Regions from separate parts of the Homo sapiens genome. Here region 1 is linked to region 2. The links are contacts of gene promoters, found by promoter capture Hi-C in blood cells and fetal thymus (Javierre and others, 2016). All regions are on one chromosome and are shown on one strand. The core of a region is centred on a gene start or on the middle of the fragment in contact, and the rest is flanking DNA. Distances in the headings are between cores, read along the strand shown.

Region 1 (7,458 bases), core at 3,252-5,751, 150 kb after region 2:
CTCAAACTCCCAGGCTGAAGTCACCCTATCCCCCCTTAGCCTTCAGAGTAGCTGGGACTGCAGGTGGACACCACCACACCCGACTAATTTTGTTTCTTTTTTGTAGAGATGGGGTCTCACTATGTTGCCCAGGCTGGTCTTGAACTCCTGGACTCAAGTGATCCTCCCACCTCGGCCTCCCAAAGTGCTGGGATTACAGGCATGAGCCACTGTGCCTGGCTATTTGTATTCTTTATCACAAACCAGTAGATGTAAGTAAATCACCTTCCTAGGTTCTGTGAGCTGTTCTATTAATAGCAAATTATTAAACCTGAGGAGGGAGTTGTGGGAGTCTCCAATTTATAGCTGGTTGGTCAGAATTATGGGGGTGAGGTGGCCCCAGGACTTTCAACTGGTGTCTGAAGGGGGACAGTCTTGTGGGGCTGAGCCCCGAGCCCTTTAAATTGTGGGATCTGATGCTAAAGTCAGGTAGACAGTGTCAGAAATGAATTGAATTGTTGCATACCCAGTTGATGTCAAATAGATGAAAAAGTGGTTGGTGTCAGAAAACACCTCCCAGCCTCCACTTAAAGAAGCTCTAGGCCGGGCACGGTGGCCCATGCCTGTAATCCCAGCATTTCAGGAGGCCATGGCAGGATGCGGTGGCCCATGCCTGTAATCCCAGCATTTCAGGAGGCCATGGCAGGATGCGGTGGCCCATGCCTGTAATCCCAGCACTTCGGGAGGCTGAGGCTGGATGCAGTGGCCATTGCCTGTAATCCTAGCACTTTGGGAGGCCAAGGCGGGAGGATGCTTTAGACAAGCACTGCCTTTCAATAACATTGTGAGGTAAAACCATTTCCCCTGGGAGACTGAGGCAGGAGGATCGCTTGAGCCCAGGGGTTCAAAGCTGCAAGTGAGCCATGATTGCACCACGGCACTCCAGCCTGAGCAACAGAGCGAGACCTTGTCTCCACAAAAATTTTTTTAAAAAAGCAATTCTTTTAGGCTGGGCACAGTGGCTCAGGCCTGTAATCCCAGCACTTTGGGAGGCTGTGGTGGGCAGATCACTTGAGGTCAGGAGTTTGAGACCAGCTTGGCCAACATGGCGAAACCCTGTCTCTACTAAAAATTACAAAAATTAGCGGGGTGTGGTGGTGCCCGCAAGTAATTGCAGCTACTCAGGAGGCTGAGGCATGAGAATCACTTGAACCTGGGAGGCAGAGGTTGCAATGAGCCAAGATTGCACAACTGCACTCCAGCCTGGGTGACAGAGTGAGACTCTGTCTTAAACAAACAAACAAAAAACAGTACTTTACAAAAATTAAAATTAAAATTAAAATTGATGAAAGAAGACCAGCCGTGGTTGCTCACGCCTGTAATCCCAGCACTTTGGGAGGCCAAGGCAGGCGGATCGCCTGAGGTCAGGAATTCGAGACCAGCCTGGCCAACATGGAGAAACCCCGTCTCTACTAAAAATACGAAATTAGCTGGGTGTGGTTGTGCGTGCCTGTAGTCACAGCTTCTTGGGAGACTGAGACAGGAGAATCACTTGAACCCGGGAGACAGAGGCTGCAGTGAGCTGAGATCGCACCACTGCACTCCAGCCTGGGTGAGAAAAAAAAAATAATAGTAATAAAATTAATGAAAGAAGTTCCTACCCGCAAAATGAAATGTGTCCCAGGAAACAAGGAGAGCATCTTGTTCAGAGTGGGAAGGCACCAGCCATGATCACTGAGAGGATGTGACAAAGCCTGCTGGTGGCTTCCCAAGAGGCACGGTTCTGTTTAAATTTTTCTGTTCACGGCCGGACGTGGTGGCTCACGCCTGTAATCCCAGCACTTTGGGAGGCCAAGGTGGGCGGATCACAAGGTCAGGAGATTGAGACCATCCTGGCTAACATGGTGAAACCTCGTCTCTACTAAAAATACAAAAAATTAGCCGGGCGTGGTGGCGGGCGCCTGTAGTCTCAGCTATTGGGAGGCTGAGGCAGGAGAATGGCGTGAACCCAGGAGGCGGAGCTTGCAGTGAGTGAGCCGAGATCGCGCCACTGCACTCCAGCCTGGGCGACAGAGCAAGACTCCATCTCAAATAAAAAAAACAAAACAAAACAAAATAAATTTTTCTGTTCACTTGAATTTTTTCACAGTGATACACTTGAATAGAAAATGCAGGGGTAGGATGCAGCAGAAAGAGCCCTGGCTTGCGTCTGGAGTCCTGGGTTCTATTGTCAGTGCTATGCCGTTGAACCACTCTATGACATTGACAAGTCCCAGCCTTTCTCTGGGCCACACTAGCCAGTCTCTACTGGCCTTTCCAGAGCTCATACTTAATTAGATAATTTTCATTGACTTCAATCCACACAAGTGTTATCTACTAGATGTCTGTTTATTTACATATCAAATCTCCTCCCACCAGCCACTGAGGCCCTAGAGGGTAGGGGCTGTCTCCCCAGAGCCTGGTACAGGCCCTGGCACTTTGTGGGTTCATGGAAGGAGGAGAGGACAGATGAATGATTGCCAGCCTGTGTCTCAGAACACCTCTGCCCCTGAAGGGTTTGGGGTTCCTGGACAGGAACAGGAAGCCTTGGATCTCCTTGAGACTGGTGCCCACTCATGCACCTCCTCCTGCCTGTGCCCCTGGATGCCCTGAGAGGTGAGGGAGGTGGCAGGAGTAAAGGGTAACTGGATTGGAGGCTCAGAGGCTCAGAGGCCTCCACTTCCTGCAGTGGAGACCCTGCCCAAGCCTGGCTCCAGCCCTGACCTCTGACTCCACCAGGAGAGTGCCAGGAAACAGACCTTAAGGCCGGAAACCTTCCTTGGGCTTGGCCTGGACCCAAGCTCCTACCGGGCATGGGCTGAGCCCTGCCTGGACCCAGTGGACCAAAAAGCCCACCCTTCTTGCTCAGCCTGGCAGAGCTGCTCTGCTGTAGCAACTTGGGGACAGTCTTTGCCTCTGAAACCACCACCAGCAGTTCCAAGCAGCCTGCCCTGGCAGGGAAGGTGCTGGGGTCAGGAGCTCTGGGTTCAGTTCCCACCTCTACTTCTCAGTGTCTGGGAAAGCATGGGCACTTTGCCACGCCTCCCTGAGCCTCAGTTGCTTCATCCTATTTCACGCTTAGGGATTAAAATAGAGAAGGTCTCACATGAATTCTCTTCCTTTACCATATTCAAGGAACTCAAAACAAGTTAAGCTTCCAGATACAGCTGAAGCCCTGGCCAACTTCACACCCCTTCTTCTTGGAGGGTGGCACCATCTAATCTCTGATTATCTTTGCTACGTGTATTTATTCTATTCCTACACATTGCTGTATATGGCATAGCATTGGTCTGCATGGATTCAAATGTTTTACATACTATGACATTATACTGAATGCATTATTCTGTAATTTGCTTTTTTACTCAATAAAATGCTTCTGAGATCTATCCATAGCGACACATATGACTCTAATTTAATCATTTTCACTGCTTAACATTGCATTCTATATATACCCAATTCATCCATTCTCCTGTCAATATGCATACTTTTAAGTTGTTTCCAATTATGTTTCATTATTTCAAGCAACACTGAAATGAATATTCTCATACATGTCAAAAAAAAATGAATTACAGATGAGTGTTATCAGGGAGCACATATTCATTGAGCCGGGGTATTCACTACAGGCTCTGATGACAATATGTTATGAGCCCAAACTACAGCAAACGACTTGACAATGGGACGGAGCACTTAAGATTGGGACTCTCTGGGACAGGAAAGCAATCATTGCTGCCCTGTGTTCAGTGTTTCCTATGGGCCAAGCCCAGTGTTCAGTGCTTTATCTCCTTGAATTCTCACAGAAACCTTGTGAGGGAGCTATTGGTGTTACCCTAGGTGAAGAAACTGAGGCACAGAGAGGTTAAGCGTCTCAGTCTGGGTGCAGTGGCTCACACGTGTAATCCCAGCACTTTGGGAGACTGAGGTAGGTGGATCACTTGAGGCCAGGAGTTCGAGACCAGCCTGGCCAACATGGTGACACCCCCATCTCTAATAAAAATACAAAAATTAGCTGGGCATGGTGGTGCATATCTGTAATCTCAGCTACTTGGGAGGCTGAGGCAGGAGAATCGCTTGAACCTGGGAGGCAGAGGTTGCAGTGAACTGAGATTGTGCCACTGCACTACAGCCTGGGTGACAGAGCGAGACTCCGTCTCAAAAAAAAAAAAAAAAAAAAAAAACACAGAGAGAGGTTAGGTGTCTTGAAAAAGATCACACAATTATGGTTGAACAGGAATTCAAACCAAATCTACGTCTGTCTGATACAACTTCCCACATTTCAACCAGAGCAGAGGGTCCCTGGTACGATGCCGCAGAGCTGTGGAAGCACAAAGGCAGGAAGGACGGGTCCCAACGGAGAGGTGCTCAGGGAGGGCTTCCTGGGGGAGGTGACAGTCCCAACCAGCCTAGAAAGATGAATATTGAAGAGGGCAGCAGTGGGAGGCATCTGGGAGGGAGACATTTGGGCCAAGGCTTGGAGGCTGGCCGACTGAGCCCCTGCCCCCAAATCACTCATCGACCCCTTGACTCCTCCCTGCCATTCCCTGCATTTCTCTTTCTTCCAGCTCCCCTCTGATCTCTGGGGTCCATCCTTCTCTTTTTACCTTCTTTCTCTTGAGTTCTGTCCTATCTCCTCATTCCCCAGTCATCCATTCATTCACTTGTTAATTCATCCACTCATCTAACACAAACTGAGCACCAGCTCTGTGCCAGGGCATTGGAACCTGAGTGAGGCAGTCCCCAGAATTGGTGGTGAGTGCGTCCACCACACTCAACTCAACCCCTAAGAGGAGGCTCTGAGATCTGCCCTGTCCCTCAGACGCACCCAGAGACAAACACACCCTCACACCTAGCAACTTCCTAGAAAACACCTGGAGGCAATCATGGCTCTCGGGCGCCCCTTGCTGGTAACTTGGGATGTTGCATCCTAGGCTGGAGAGTCCAAGTGTGACCCTAGGAAGGTGCTGCCCTGGCTCCCCACAAACTCCTGGTGCACTGCAACTTCTGCCAGCAGTTCCATTCTAGGAGTTTCTAAGAGTGCAGTCCTTGTCATAAATGTTTAGTGCCCTACCCTTTTGTTTGTTGTTGTTTGGTTTTTTTTTTGAGACCAATCTCACTCTGTTGCTCAGGCTGGAGTGCAGTGGCTCCATCTTGGCTCACTGCAACCTCCGCCTCCCGGGTTCAAGTGATTCTCCTGCTTCAGCCTCCCCAGTAGCTGGGACTACAGGTGTGTGCCACCATGCCTGGCTAATTTTTGTATTTTTTAGCAGAGATGGGGTTTCACCATATTGGCTAGGCAGGTCTCAAAAGTGATCCACCCATCTCAGCCTCCCAAAGTGCTGGGATGACAGGTGTGAGCCACTGTGCCCGGCCTAATGCCCTAGGCTTTGTCAGGCCCAAGCCAAAGGCCAGAGTAAGAAGCAGTGACAGATGTATGTTTGTTGTACTGGGAAGGGGGGACGGGATGGGTGCTCTGGAATGTGTGTGTGCATCATGGATGTGTGTGCACCAGTGCTGTACACGGGAGGGGTCTGTACACGGGGGTGCCTGGGTGCACATTCTGAGTTTGTGCTTGTGTATCATTGTCCTGCGGTGAGCAGGCCTATGCAAACCACCACCAAAGACCGAGGGAGCTGAGAGGCCAAAGAAAGAGGCTGACAAGTGCAGTTTATCAGAAAGAAAATAGGGACTTGCAAACAGAAGTTGCAAATTCATTTACTCAATAAAGTGCTTTTGAGATCTATCCATAGCGACACCGTCAAGCAATTGCAAGATGGTGCACCCCTGCACCTACCTTCCAGAAAACATTATTTTTATAGCAAGCTTTTAGGGTAAAGACATGTGCAGCTGGTCATGCCTCAGATATTCTGAAGCTCTTGACCACTGGGGAGTCCAGATTAGCATTTTTTTTTTTTTTTTGAGATGGAATCTCACTCTGTCACCAGGCTGGAGTGCAGTGACACAATCTCGGCTCACTGCAACCTCTGCCTCCCGGGTTCAAGCGATTCTCCTGCCTCAGCCTCCCGAGTAGCTGGGATTACAGGTGCCCACAACCATGCCTGGCTAATTTTGTATTTTTAGTGGAGACGGGGTTTCATCATGTTGGCCAGGATGGTCTCGATCTCTTGACCTCAGGATCCACCTGCCTCAGCCTACCAAAGTGCTGGGATTACAGGTGTGAGAGACAACGCCCCGGCCGTGATTAGCGTTTTTTTTTTTTTGAGACAGAGTCTCGCTCTGTTGCTCAGGCTAGAGTGCAGTGGCGTGATCTTAGCTCACTACAAGCTCTGCCTCCCAGATTCACGCCATTCTCCTGCCTCAGCCTCCCGAGTAGCTGGGACTACAGGCGCCCACCACCATGCCCGGCTAATTTTTTTGTATTTTTAGTAGAGTCGGGGTTTCACCGTGTTAGCCAGGATGGTCTCGATCTCCTGATCTCATGATCTGCCCACCTCGGCCTCCCAAAGTGCTGGGATTACAGGCGTGAGCCACCGTCCCAGCATCGTGATTAGCGTTTTTATGAAGGGTTATCTATGCTACAGCCATTGTCTTAAGAACTTGCTGCAGAATTTAAGAACTTGCTGGTCAGGCAGGTGACTCATGCCTAAATCCCAGCACTATGTGACAGTAACACCCTGTATGTACAAATTTTTTTTTTTTTTTGAGACAGAGTTTTGCTCTTGTTGCCCAGACTGGAGTGCAATGGCGCGATCTCAGCTCACTGCAACCTCTGCCTCCAGGGTTCAAGTGATTCTCCCGCTTCAGCCTCCCAAGTAGCTGGGATTGCAGGCATATGCCACCATGCCCAGCTAATTTTGTATTTTTAGTAGAGACGGAGTTTCTCCATGTTGGCCAGGCTGGTCTCGAACTCCCAACCTCAGGTGATCTGCCTGCCTCGGCCTCCTAAAGTGCTGGGATTACAGGCGTGAGCCACTGTGCCTGGCCTCAAATTTTTTTTTTCTTTAATTAGCCAGGTGTGATGGTGTGTGTCTATAGTCCCAGCTACTCGGGAGGCTAAGGTGGGAGGATCACTTGAGTCTGGGGGGGTCAAGGCTGCAGTGATTGCACCACTGCATTCCAGCCTGGGTGACAGAGCGAGACTTTGTCTTAAAAAAGTAATAAAATTGCTGCAAAACACTGTGGTATGCTGGAGTCAGACATCGGTCATCATGGCAGTTTCATTTCATGATGATGTCACTCTTGCCATGCAACAGGCTATCTGCCTACAGGCATGCTCTGGTGCTATGGAGAAGTGCGTGTGAGTAGTCCTTACCTGCGCACACTAGGTGTTCACTGAGTACATGCATGGAGGCGCATGGGCAGCATTCTCACCTCAGATGGAGCAGCTCTGAGGCTTTGACTCTGAGCTCCCTAGTGGGATCTGGTGCCAGTTGTCCATGAACGTCCCCTGTTCTGGCTTCCCTCTCCTCCCTGTCTCACTTCCCC
Region 2 (7,520 bases), core at 1,412-3,911:
TCATCTTGCAAAACTGAAAGTTTATAACCATTCTTACTTTTGCAAATTTTATGAAGACATATAATCCCGGCCGGGCGCGGTGGCTCACTCCGGTAATCCCAGCACTCTGGGACGCCGAGGTGGGCGGATCACCTGAGGTCAGGAGTTCGAGACCAGCCTGACCAACATGGTGAAACCCCCATCTCTACTAAAAATAAAAAATTAGCTGGGTGTGGTGGCACACACCTGTAGTTCCAGCTACTCGGGAAGCTGAGGCAGGAGAATCTCTTGAACCCGGGAAGCAGAGGTTGCAGTGAGCTGATATCATGCCACTGCACTCCAGCCTGGGAGGTTGCAGTTAGCTGAGATCATGCCACTGCACTCCAGCCTGGGCAACAGAGTGAGACTCCATCTCAAAAAAAAAAAAAAACAAACAAAAGGTCGGGCGCGGTGGCTCACGCCTGTAATCCTAGCACTTTGGGAGGCTGAGGTGGGTGGATCACAAGGTCAGGAGATCAAGACCAGTCTGGCTAACACGGTGAAACCCCATCTGTACTAAAAATACAAAAAATTAGCCGGGCGTGATGGCGGGTGCCTGTAATCCCAGCTACTTGGGAGGCTGAGGCAGGAGAATGGCGTGAACCCGGGAGGCGGAGCTTGCAACAAACCAAGATTGCGCCACTGCACTGCAGCCTGGGCGACAGAGCAAGACTCAGTCTCAAAACAAAAACAAAAACAAAAACAAAACAAAACAAAAACCATATAATCCCATGCAGGTGATGAGTTCTGAAGTTTAAGCTTCAGTGGGCTTCATGATAAATTCATTCTTGCTGAGGGAAGATTTGAGTCTTTTTGGAGTTCCCCAAGGTACAGATTTGGACATCATACACTGTAGGAAATCAAGGTTGCATCAAATGACCGCTCCAGGAGGGAGAGCTGTTAGGGAATAATAGGTCCAGAGGTGTTTGTTTTGGGTTTTTTTTTTTTTTTATTTTATCGCCCAGGTTGGAGTGCAGTGGTGCAATCTCGGCTCACTGCAATCTCCGCCTCCCGGGTTCAAGCGATTATTGTGCCTCAGCCTCTGTGCCACAACGCCCGGCTAATATTTGTATTTATAGTAGAGATGGGGTTTCACCATGCTGGCCAGGCTGCTCTCGAATTCCCAACCTCAGGTGATCGCCTGCCTTGGCCTCCCAACGTGATGGGATTACAGGTGTGAGCCACTGTGCCCGGCCAGGTCCAGAGGTCTTAACCTTCTCATGGATTCCTGGGATTTTGAGGTGGTGTCTCAGGCACTGCCAATTTGGGCTGCTTAGCTCCTCCCCTCCCCCACACTTGAAACATCTGCTTAAATAATAACGATGACATTAATGATCATCATTCAAGCTGAAATACATTGGTTACTTTACTACATGATAGACACTATTCCAAGTACCCCACTTGTATTAAGTTACTTAATTCTTTTTTTTTTTTTTTTTTTGAGATGAAGTCTCACTCTGTTGCTCAAGCTGGAGTGCAGTGGCACAATCTCAGCTCACTGCAACCTCCACCTCCCGGATTCAAGCGATTCTCCTGCCTCAGCCTCCTGAGTAGCTGGGACTACAGGAATGCACCACCATGCCCGGCTAATTTTTTTTGTATTTTTAGTAGAGATGGGGTTTCACTATGTTGGCCAGGCTGGCCTTGAACTCCTGACCTTGTGATCCACCCACCTCTGCCTCCCAAAGTGCTGGGATTACAGGCATGAGCCACCAAGCCAGGCCAAGTTACTTAATTCTTACAATGCAACTATGTGGTTGGAATTAATCATTATCCCATTTTCCAGAGAAGGATGCCAGGGCTTGAAAAGCTTCAGTTTTATAGATAAAGGTTCCTTGTAACATACCTTTTGAAAAAAAATTGTTCTACTAATAACACGTTTTGAAAAAGTCTGAATTAGTCCAGGGTATTTATTTTACACATGGGAAAGTAAAATCCAGAAAAAGGGGTCATTTGTTCAATGCCACACACTTATTCTTTCATTATTTCCTGGGCGCCTGCCTTGTGCCAGTGACTGTGCTATGACATAAGGGTTCAGAGGTAAACAAGATACTCATGGAATATAATTTTAGTGGAGGCCAGTGGACAATATATACAAGAAGAAATGAATAGGCAAAATAATTCCAGACAGTGCTGGGATGATACATTTGAGATGTGATTGAGTGACAAAGAGAGAGAGTGTTAATTTAGTTGGAGAGGTGGTCAGGAGAGTGTGGTCTGTGGAGGTAACATGTGAGCCACAACCTGATGACCTGAAGAAGTCAGCCGTGCACTGCTATGGGGGGACAACACTCCAGACAGAGGGATCTATGAGTGCAAAGGCCCTGAGGCAGGAATGGCTTGTTAGTAATACAGCAGACTCCTGGTCCAGTGCTCCTTCTCTGCCTGCTGCTCTCTAGGCCCTCAGAGAGGCTCCTTTGGTGTCCTGGACCTCCCTCAAGCTCAGTCCCTAAGGGGCCAGCTGATCTAGGAAGGTAGCAGATCTGGCTTCCTGTGGGTCCTCCTCCCAGAAGCCCTATGGCTGAACCGGATCTGAGTTTCCTGGTTCCTGTCTGGCAGAAGGGGAGCAGATCTCCTCCCTGCCTCCTCTCCCCAGGCTCTAGCCCTTGCTCCAAATCTCCATGGCAACCCCTGGACACAGTTCTGAACCAAATGAAGAGGATCTGGAAGGCAAAGCACTAAGATCATAGTGAAGACTTGCCTCCCCCTTCTCCTTGTGTCCCACCAGCCTCCCTGCTGGCCTGACCAGGCCCCATACTCCAGTCTCCCCAGAGACCCCAAGCTGAAGATTCTGTGGGTCTGCCCCATTGCTGGGCACAGCAGAGCCTGGATGGAGGCTTGTTGTCTTCTGCAGTTGCCCCAAAGGTTGCTCTTGCTGGGGGCAGCCGCCCTGACTGCAACTGCTTTGGAGACAGGTAAGTATCAGGGGGCTTGGTTGGGGCACCCAGAAGACTTGGGCCCCCACCATCCTTAGAGACTATGTTTCCCCAGTCAGCACTCATCCTGCTGGGCTGAGACCTTTTGAGCTGGGGGAGGCTGGGAAACTGTGTCTGGTCTTGCTTGGCATCCCCAAATCCAACCCAAAGCCTTCTGGAAGGCTTGGATCTGCCAGTCACCTAGAAGCAGGAGTCTGGGAGTGGGCAGGACAGCCCTCAGGGCCTGCTTTGCAAAACTCTGTAGGCTTCGGATTCAGAGAAGCTGCATTTACACACTCTGCCACTTCTTATGTTTGTACCTTTGAGATCATTGTTTCAACTCTCTGAATTTCTTTGGCAGTAAAATGAAAATAATAGGCCCTTGCCCCTTAAGGGACTATGATTATTGGCATATAAGATGAGATAAGTCATGCAAGGCACTTCATAATACCTGGCACATAAAAGGTGCCAAATTCCCGGCTGGGCGCAGTGGCTCACGCCTGTAATCCCAGCACTCTGTGATGCCGAGGCGGGCGGATCATGAGGTCACGAGATCAAGACCATCCTGGCCAACATGGTGAAACCACATCTCTACTAAAAATACAAAAATTAGCTGGGCATGGTGGCATGTGCCTGTAATCCCAGCTACTTGGGAGGCTGAGGCAGGAGAATCGCTTGAACCAGGGAGTCGGAGGCTGCAGTGAGCCGAGATTGCGCCACTGCACTCCAGCCTGGCAACAGAGAGAGACTCCGTCTCAAAGAAATAAAAAAAAAAAAGGGTGCCCAATTCCCTTACTCTCTAAACTCCATGCCTGCCCTGTGTACCTTCAGGGTAGGCTCTGGCTTTAGCAGAGAAATACCAAATATTGGAAAGTGCTCCCACATCCTGAGCTCTGATGAAGGATTTTTTCCTCAAAGACCCACATCCTGGCTGGTCCTCAAGTACCCACTGGTCCCTATCTTGCACCAGAAAACCCACCTCCTCTTTCCTCTCTGTGCTTACAGAAATCAGGGCTACTTTGAGTACTTGCACATCTTCTCATTTAATCCTCACAACAACCCTGTACCAGTGAGGATGTTTTGGGCTGTAAGTAACAGATAACAAACTAAATGGGGCTTAAATGGTAGGATATTTGCTATTTCAGTTAAGAGTGGTCATAGGTGATTCCAGAGATGGTTAACTCAACGGCTCAACAATGTCACTGTTCCTCTGAAATGCTCTGACCTCATCTTTGCAAAATGGCTGCTGCAGCTCTGGACATCCCATCCTCATCCTCAGTCAGCAGCTTTCAAAAGCAGGAAGAAAAGGGGCTCCTTATCACACAGCTCTCCCCCTCCCCTTTTTTTTTTTTGGTGACGGAGTCTCGCTGTGTTACCCAGGCTGGAGTGCAGTGGCTTGATCTCAGCTCACTGCAACCTCCGCCTCCAGAGTTCACGCGATTCTCATCCTCAGCCTCTCGATTAGTTGGGATTACAGGTGCGCACCACCATGCCCGGCTAATTTTTTGTATTTTAGTAGAGATGGGGTTTCACCATGTTGGCCAGGCTGGTCTCGAACTCCTGACCTCAGGTGATCCACCTGCCTTGGCCTCCAAAGTGCTGGGATTACAGGCGTGAGCCACTGCGCTCGGCCCCGCATCTTAGGGTTTCGAATAAGGGATTGTAGATTTGAATTAAATTAAATTAAATCATTTAATCCTTACAATCATTCTGAGATTGATTAATCATCCCCATTTTACCGATGAGGAAAATGAGGCTCAGAGAGGGCGAGTAACTCGCTTGGGATCACACAGCGGGCAGGGGACAGAGTAGAGTTCGGGGTCGCGCCGCGCGGCTCCAGTTTCCGTGCCTTCCGCTGCAGCCGACCTGGCGGAACTGTGCGGGCAGACGTGGCAGGGGGACGGGCTGCTGCTGCGCTCGCACGCCGCATCGCGCAGGTTCTACTTCGTGGCTCCGGACACCGACTGCGGGCTCTGGGTGCAGGCGGCAGCCCCCGGCGACCGGATCCGCTTCCAGTTCCGCTTCTTCCTGGTCTACAGCCTGACCCCCGCGCCCCCGGCGCTCAACACCTCCTCCCCGGCCCCGGCCGACCCGTGCGCCCCCGGCTCCTACCTGCAGTTCTACGAGGGCCCGCCGGGGGCGCCCCGGCCCCTGGGGTCCCCACTGTGCGGCCTGAACATCCCGGTGCCTGTGGCATCCTCCGGACCCTTTCTAGGCCTGCGCCTGGTCACGAGAGGCCGCCAGCCCCGCGTGGACTTCGTGGGCGAAGTCACCTCTTTCCGTCTGGGTGAGCTGGGGCTGAAGGCCGGGACGGGACCCTCTGCAGAGGCCATGCGGGACTGGGGCCACAGTGGGGGCCCCGGTGAGGGCCGCTGCCGACAGGGGAATGGCAGGGGTGCCCGAAGCACAAGATGGCAGGGACTGGGTCCAACGGGAGGGAAGAAGGTGGTGGCTAGTGGCAGAGTCACAATAAGGGACCTCCCGGATCCTAAGAGCCAACCATATAAATCTGGCTACCATGGATGTGTGCGTCAGACTGTCCTACCAGCCCCAGTGCGCACACACATCCACACACATCCACACACAACTTCCTCCCCACACACATTCACACACAACTCCCACACGTTCACACCTCACACTCTGACATCCACACCCATGTCACATACGCACAACCCACGCACCTCATCGCCCCCACACACTCCACACTCATGCCTCTCACTGCAGCACACGCCTCACACTGCACACTCACCATCACACACCTCATATGCACACAGTACCGCCTTGCACACTTACACACAGCTCACATGCTCTCATGCCACATGCTGGCTGCTCTGCGCTGGGTCAGCCCTTCAGATGTTTGCAGAAGGGTGTGCTTAGGACTCGCCAGGCCTGTAGGCAGCAGAAACCAACTCAAGCCAGGAAAGGGCCCTCTTGGAACTGAAATTAATAATACTCGCCCAACTGGGCGCCGTGGCTTTCGCCTGTAATCCCAGCACTTTGGGAGGCCAAGTCATGAGGATCACTTGAGCTCAGGAATTCAAGACCAGCCTGGGTGACAGAGAGAGACCTGCCTAAAACAACAACAAAAAATAATTTAAAAAATATAATAATTAAAAAATAATAAAATTAATAACAGTACTTGCCCCATAGGGGTATTGTGAGGCCTCAATGGGCCAGGATGTGTAGTATTTACGGCTGTGCATGGCACAGAAGAGGAAGTCAGTACATGTTAGCTGCCATCCTCCACCCTCCTCCCCATGAAACACTCATCCATGTTCTCATCTGCATGCATGAGGGCAGCTCTCTCCTGCCCACACCCCCACACTGTCACCATGGGGGCCACACATCCTGCTGTGTCGTGGGCTGGACCGGAATCCTCACCTCAGGCTTCTGCTTCTGGCCTCAGGACCTTGTGGTGCCTACTTCCGCTGCCAGAATGGCAGGTGCATCCCCTCAAGCCTCGTGTGTGACCCCTGGGGCATGGACAACTGTGGCGATGGCAGTGACCAGGGCTCCTGGTCACCAGCTGACTGCAGAGGTCAGTGCGGGGTGTGGACTGGGCCCTACTGAACAGCTGGAGGGAAGCCTGGCCCTAACTCCCCTTCCCTAGGGCAGGGCCCCGATGGGGAGGCAGGAGAGAGGAAAGCGGAAGTGTGGAATCGGCTTAGGCCAAGGGCTGGAGGGGCAGAGCAGTCAGGGCCAGAACTATGCTGCAGATGATCTCATCCGGCGGATTCCAAATGATGCTTTAGTGGTGGAAACTTTTGCTAAATGGGACCTGGCATGGAGGCCCAAGACATTCAAAGGAGATATCCTCTGCTTAACTGGATGGTGGGCCTGGGGCCCTGGCTGCCTGATGTCTCTCTGAGGGCCCTGAGTGTCACCCTCAAGACATACTTTGAAAACCATCAATCCAGTCTGATTCCCACACTTTACAGATCAGGAAACTGAGGCCTAGAGAGAAGTGACTTGCCCAAGGTCATAAAGCCAGTGAGTAAAATGAGCAGGAATGATCTCTGTAGACAGGGGAGTGGGATAGGAGGGCTAGGGTTGGTGGAAGGGACCAGAACAAATCACCCAGGAATAACCTTCCTGGGGATCTAAAGATGTCCCACCTGCCCACCACACCCAATTAGGAGTGGGATGGAGGTAGGGCTGCCATGTACAGTTGAACAGGGGTGAAATGCAGTTTCCCAGAACCCCACACACTTACCTTCCCCATCCCCCGCTCAGCCTTTTTTGCAGGTTCCTGGTCATTTCCCTGATGCTGTATGCTTTGTGCCATGAGACCCAGGTCCTATGTCCCCTTGTCCTCCATCCAGGCTCATTCCCTTGTGGGTCTCATTTATATCGTATCACCTGTGGGACTTGTCTTTGAACTTCAGCCACATAACCTCCTCCCTGCTCAGCATCTCTGCGTGGATGTATAGGCGAAATCTCAAACTTAACTTGCCCCATACTGGACTCCTTGTCCACAGCCCTCCCTGCATCCTGCTTCCCTCTCGCTGAGCAGCGACTTCACATTCCAGCTGCCCAGGCCTCACTGAGTCATCTTTTACTCCCCGCTTAACCCATAGCCTATAACCC

What was found. The method cuts DNA at HindIII sites, captures the fragments that hold promoters and counts their contacts. A CHiCAGO score of 5 or more calls a contact.
Region 1: a fragment that was not itself captured here is called in contact with the fragment with the promoter of LDLRAD2 in region 2 in 1 of 17 cell types (erythroblasts); the score reaches 5.9 in erythroblasts.

What each region holds. Positions count from the first base shown.
Region 1 is chr1:21,959,248-21,966,705 of GRCh38, forward strand. No RefSeq gene overlaps it. Among named protein-coding and RNA genes, the nearest start is that of CELA3B, 14 kb to the right of the region's middle. RefSeq lists an enhancer at 2,649-3,312 and a silencer at 4,797-5,064. The HindIII fragment of the contact is 2,663 bases long and covers 3,171-5,833 here.
Region 2 is chr1:21,809,604-21,817,123 of GRCh38, forward strand. LDLRAD2 (low density lipoprotein receptor class A domain containing 2) reads left to right here and starts at 2,662. Exons shown (of 5, transcript NM_001013693.3): 1 at 2,662-2,933; 2 at 4,795-5,220; 3 at 6,340-6,471. The coding sequence starts at 2,849. RefSeq lists silencers at 1,148-1,298, 5,027-5,146 and an enhancer at 2,453-2,747. The HindIII fragment of the contact is 31,080 bases long and covers 1,827-7,520 here.